Regions from separate parts of the Homo sapiens genome. Here region 1 is linked to region 2. The links are contacts of gene promoters, found by promoter capture Hi-C in human tissues and cell types (Jung and others, 2019). All regions are on one chromosome and are shown on one strand. Each heading gives the region's core, a stretch centred on a gene start or on the middle of the fragment in contact. The rest is flanking DNA. Distances are from core to core; before and after follow the strand shown.

The links. Contacts are between HindIII fragments. The study calls those that stand out against the background at their distance.
Region 1: a contact is called between a fragment that was not itself captured here and the fragment with the promoter of MYO15A in region 2, in 3 of the 25 tissues and cell types used here (dorsolateral prefrontal cortex, mesenchymal stem cells and psoas muscle).

The regions. Positions count from the first base shown.
Region 1 is chr17:18,177,856-18,180,555 of GRCh38, forward strand. It overlaps MYO15A (myosin XVA), which reads left to right. Exons shown (of 66, transcript NM_016239.4): 66 at 914-1,945. The coding sequence ends at 1,015. Among named protein-coding and RNA genes, the nearest start is that of ALKBH5, 4.6 kb to the right of the region's middle. The HindIII fragment of the contact is 6,024 bases long and covers 1-2,700 here.
Region 2 is chr17:18,107,262-18,110,080 of GRCh38, forward strand. It overlaps MYO15A (myosin XVA), which reads left to right and starts at 1,495. Exons shown (of 66, transcript NM_016239.4): 1 at 1,495-1,563. It overlaps DRG2 (developmentally regulated GTP binding protein 2), which reads left to right. Exons shown (of 13, transcript NM_001388.5): 13 at 1-708. It overlaps LOC105371566 (a long non-coding RNA gene), which reads right to left. Exons shown (of 3, transcript NR_164159.1): 3 at 430-1,374. RefSeq lists an enhancer at 1-438. The HindIII fragment of the contact is 16,274 bases long and covers 1-2,819 here.

The DNA of each region.
Region 1 (2,700 bases), core at 85-2,584, 70 kb after region 2:
AGCTTCCCTGGGGGGATTCCAACAATGGCTTTCGTCTGAGAACCACATTCACAGATTGATTTCCGCAATTCCCTGATGCCTTCCCCTACCCTGCTCCAATTGGGAGCACTAAGCCTGGGTCACTGCCCATTGTGCACTGTGGGAGCCAGGCGGTAACCATGGCAACAGACAGTTAGAAACTGTTACCATTTATTGATTGGATTCATATTTTTTAAATCTAAAGAATTTACACGTGGCCGGGCGCGGTGGCTCATGCCTGTAATCCCAGCACTTTGGGAGGCCGAGGTGGGCAGATCATGAGGTCAAGAGATGGAGACCATCCTAGCCAACATGGTGAAACCCCGTCTCTACTAAAAATACAAAAATTAGCTGGGCGTGGTGGTGCATGCCTGTAGTCTCAGCTACTCGGGAGGCTGAGGCAGGAGAATCGCTTAAACCTGGGAGGCGGAGGTTGCAGTGAGCCGAGATCGCGCCATTGCACTCCAGCCTGGCGACAGAGCGAAACTCCATCTAGGAAAAAAAAAAAAAGAATTTACATGCAATAAAGCCTCACTGAATCCTCACCACAGCCCTGTCTGTGAGGCAGGCCCCTGGTCAATTGAGACCTTACAGATGAGGCCACTGAGGCTCAGAGAGGTGAAGCGATAGACCCTGGGTCACACAGCTCACACGGAGCAAAGCCGGAAGAGGCACTTGGTCTCCTGCTTGCTTACCCCTTGCAGCCCACACCCCACCATTCGGCCTTCCAGCTCTTCATGCTCCTCTCAGGCCCTGGGGGAGGTGGGGACAAGGGTCCCTGCATGAATGATGGTCTCCACCTATCTCCCAACCACCTCTCCATTCTGTACTTCCCACCCCAAGGTAAGAGCTGGGGAAGTGTTGGATGGGCGTGGACTGTCACTGTCACCTGCAGGGACTGGAACTGTGTCGTGTGGTGGCCGTGCACGTGGAGAACCTGCTCAGTGCCCATGAGAAGCGGCTCACATTGCCCCCCAGCGAGATCACCCTGCTCTGACCCAGCCCCCAGCCCTCCAGTACCTTCTGCCAGAAGACTCACTGTGTGGCCTCAGAGAAATCACTGAACCTCTCAGGATCAATGACCCCTGTAAGGGGCCAGAGCCTTGGAGGACACTAAGAGGAGGCAGGAGGAGCAACTCAAATCCCCAAGAACACAAGAAGACCCATCCTGAACTGGGATGGAATGGCAGCATGCAAACTTGGATCAGATAGCAGGAGGAACTTTCAAAAGTCTGGCCCACTGTGCAGTGGAGCAGAAGGCAGGACCATGAGGCCTCCTGCCATGTACCCATTGCAGACCCTGCCCCTAACTCCTGCCTATGACACAGAAGCCCCACACCAGTTGCCCAGATGAACTGGCCTCTGCCTTTGGTTTACTCAGGGTCTGATGTTGGAATCTGCTCCAACTCCACACCCTAGCCCTTACATGTCCTCCTAAGGGGCCCCTCCTTGTGCTGCCAGTCAGCCTGGATTTCTGGTCTTTGGTTATTTCTGTGCAAACAAAAGGTGTGCCTGGCAGCCATTTCTCCATGGAGTTGCTAAGTGGCCGGAAAACAAGCCTGAGGGAGGAGGCAGGAGTTGGAGTTACCTTAGGCCCCTGATTCACTGCCTATGAACAGACCATCCCCCACTCCTTGGGTATCCCCAACCCCAGACCCCCATCACTTGATGGGCCACACAAGTTTGAGAGTGGTACAAGGGAGAAGTTTGGGAAAAGCCTTCTTGGAAAATGGGACATTAGCATTGAGTTTTGAAAGATGAGTAGGAGTTTGCTAAGAATAGATGGAAGACAGCAGGATAAACATTCCAGAGAAAATCATGTTTATTCCCTGCTGTATCTTCCAGAACCTAGGAGGATGCCTAACAGAGAGTAAGCACTTAAAAAATATTTGTCATATGAATGAAAAAATAAACGAGTGAATGTTGATAGAAAGTGCTGGTGCTTTGGGGAGCTTGTGCGGGGCAGAGAACACTTGGGGAGACTAGATAGGTAGATGGGGGCATAGCTGCAAGATCCATGGCAGCAGAGAAAGGATTTATCTACTTATTCAGCCATTCAATAGCTATTAAATACCTACTGTGAATGAGGCAAATACCAGGCACTGGCAGTTAATCACAGTCAAATCACCGCAAACTAGGATAAGACCTGTGAGTGGGAGTTAGCTAGGGAAAGAGGAAAGAGAACAACATACGCAGGGGCCCTGAGGTGCGCATTACTTGTAGCAGGATCTGAGACTGAAGAGGCCGGCAAAGATGGTTTCGATAGGGCTTCTGGGCTACATTAAGAATTTAGGATTTCTGGGCCAGGCGCAGTGGCTCATGACTGTAATCCCGGCACTTTGGGAGGCTGAGGCAGGCGGATTGCCTGAGCTCAGCAGTTCGAGACTAGCCTGGGCAACACGGTGAAACCCCGTTTCTACTAAAATAAGAATAATATACAGGGGCAGCCTGCCCCTGTAATCCCAGCTACTCAGGAAGCTGAGGCAGGAGAATGGCTTGAACCTGGGAGGCAGAGGTTGCAGTGAGCCAAGATCATGCCACTGCACTCCAGCCTGGGTGACAGAGTGAGACTCCATCTCCAAAAAAAAAAAAAAAAAAAAAAAAGAATTTAGGATTTCTGGGCCGGGCATGGTGACTAACACTTGTAATCTCAGCACTTTGGGAGGCTGAGGCCAGTGGATC
Region 2 (2,819 bases), core at 245-2,744:
CCCACCTGCCTCGTCTCCCTGGGGAGGTGGTCCCACTGGGACACACAAACACCCAAACAGAAAAATACAAATACACGTACCCCAGGAAGGGGTCCCTCAAGTCTCTGCTATTTACAGAAGTTTCTTCAGTAGGCAGACGAAGAGTGTGTTGGGGCAAAGGGGCTCGGTTGGAGGCATTTCCCATAAGACTGAGCCCTCTCATGGGGGTTTTGAGTTTGTAGTGCTGAGCCTGCATCTGTGCCTCCCAGCCCCCTGCACTGAGGGAGCAAGTTGCCCACATGCCCGCCAGCCAGGGCCTAAAGCAGATGGCATGCTCAGTGCCAGGCTGGTAGCTGGGCCTGTTTGGGTCCCTGGAGGCTGTGGCTGCTGTCATGGCACCTCACTCCCTCAGCTCTTGCCAGCTTCTCTGACACTTGGGTTGGGGGCCCTTCCAGGAGGAAACCCCCTTGGGTGCCCCACACAGGGCTCTCCATGATGGGAACCAGTGGTTAGTGGCTTCAAAGGCCCAGCTGACACCCTCCACAGCCTAAGGGGTGTCCTAAAGTGCCTCCCCCTGTATTCCCCCTCCCAGGGCAGCCCCTGCCCAGCACAAAACCCCAGGACCCTGGCTCTGCACGCCTGGGGCAGGGACTTTTGAGTTTAGGATCTGTATTTTCTAAGTCCCCAGTTCTCCTGGCTCTCCTTTCTGAAATAAAGGATTGAAAACGGTTCCTGTTCAGACTGAGAACACTTTGTAAACTTGCTGAACAGTAGCCAGGTTGAGTCAGGTGGGCACAGGTCAGACATTGGGCCTGGGGGTCGGAGAGGGTGCAGCCTGGGCCCCAAGGCAGACCCAGGCCTTGTGTGGCAAGGAGACTGCAGGGTTCCTCACCCAGGCACAGGCAGGCTCTGCCCAGGGGGTTGGTGTTCGGGGGTGTCAGGCCCAGACTGGCCCCTCCGGAGGGGCCTGGCTGCCAAGGTGGGCAGCATCCCAGGAGGCCCTTGTGACCATCTGGGCTGGCAGGGAGGCTCTGTGAGAACAAGGTGGCGGGTCATTTCCTGTTGCCTCAGAAGTCAGGAGTAGAGGGGCTGGCAGGGGCTCGATGAGTGCCTACCGTGTGCCAGGGACTGTGCCAGGCCCCCCACAGTGTTCTGCTGTCCCCCAGAAGCTGGTGTAGGCTGCACAGTTTGTGAGTGCAGACCCCGGATTTAAGACCTCTGAGCAGCGGGGAAGGCTTCCTGGAGGAGGTATGCCTTTTGAGATGGATGCAGCAGGTTCTGTGAGGCTGCCAGGAGGGGTAGAGTTCCCGGGGGCCTCGGGCCCCGCTGGAGTGTGGAGCAGGCCCATGCTCAGCTCTCCAGGCTGTTCGTGGCTCCCCTGTCAGCTGCTCACTCCTTTCCAGAGACAAAACAGGAATAATAGACATCATTAAATATACATAGGGCCCCAGGCGGTCGGCGTGGTGGGCTGGGCCTCCCTTCCCCATAACACTGAGCTGCTCTGCTGGGCCAACCGTGCTCCTGGGCCAGCCAGAGGACCCCCATGAGGCGGCATGCAGGCGGGGAGCAGGCCACAGAACGCAGGTAAGGAGACCTTAGCCTAGAGTCCTTGGGGTCTGTCACTGGCCACCCTCGCATCCCAGGCTGCAGGGGTGATAAGGGAAGGGGCAGCAGCAGAGCTGGGGCCTCGCCCCTAACTCATCTTGAGGCCCTTCTCTGCCTCACTTTGTTCATCTGTGAGGGGTGTGATGCCCATGCAGTCCCCTCCTGGCGATGGTGGGATACCAAGACAGGCAGGGCCTCTGTGGCTTACCTCGGCCCCTCTCCTGACTGTCCTGATGCCTGGCCATGAGGCCCTAAGTGAGGGTTTCTGCCTGGCTGGTGGCCATTCCCACTTCCACTTTACAGGTAGGGGCTCTGGGCCCAGGGTGAGGTAGGGAAGGCCTTGAGTTCACAGGGTGTCAGGGTGAGTCCAGACCTTGGATTAGATCCAGACCTGTTTTGTCCCCAAGGCTGGCTGGCAAAGGGTGGGAAATGAGGCCAGAGGCTGGGGGTCCTCAGGCAGTGAGGGCTCAGGTGAGAGGCTCCAGCCACTGGGCCACAAGTTCCTCACCGTGGATGGGCTTGTTCCTGGGCTAGATCTGTGTGCGCGTGGATCAGGGCAGGCACTGCGGCTCTGTTATGTCCTGGGCTTTCTGGATCTGTGGTCAGGATGGTTGCGCAGTCTACATTTGCTTGTGAGAGAGCGAGCAAGGGATCCTGCAGCTGCGTATGCCCAGGTCAGTGTGAAGTGGCAGCTTGCGGTGCCTTTAGGGCTGGGGAAGCTCCCTAAGACCCCCCAAAGGTCTCTGACCCTCCCATCCCCGCACCTGGGTAAGCTCCAGGCTTGGGCCTCACCCTGTCAGCCACCTTGTTCTCATCACCCTCCCTGATGATCACAGGCAGGGGTCTGCACCCTCACTCAGGCCCATGCCCAGGCAGCAGAGTTGCATTCATCTCCCAGCTGGCATCCCTGCAGCCTCCCGGGGGTAGTATGGCCTGCAGCTTTAGAAGACTCAGGTACATAGGAGCCAAAGACATGAATATTCATCTATCTGTCCCACACGTGTGCGTTCACTCATTCTCCGTCTTTCTTCCTCTCCAGCTTAGATTCCACAGTTTCTCATTTCGGAACCCTCCTTTGGCAAGAAAGCCGAGTCGAGACCCTCTCCTTCCCACTCTGTCCCTCTCCTAGACAGCTCACCTGACCTCCAGCTTCCATCTCGCCAGACCTGGGTCCGAGCAGCCTTTTTGACTCTCCACTGCACTGTCCTGTAGCCATCCCAAGCCCACCGTGTCCC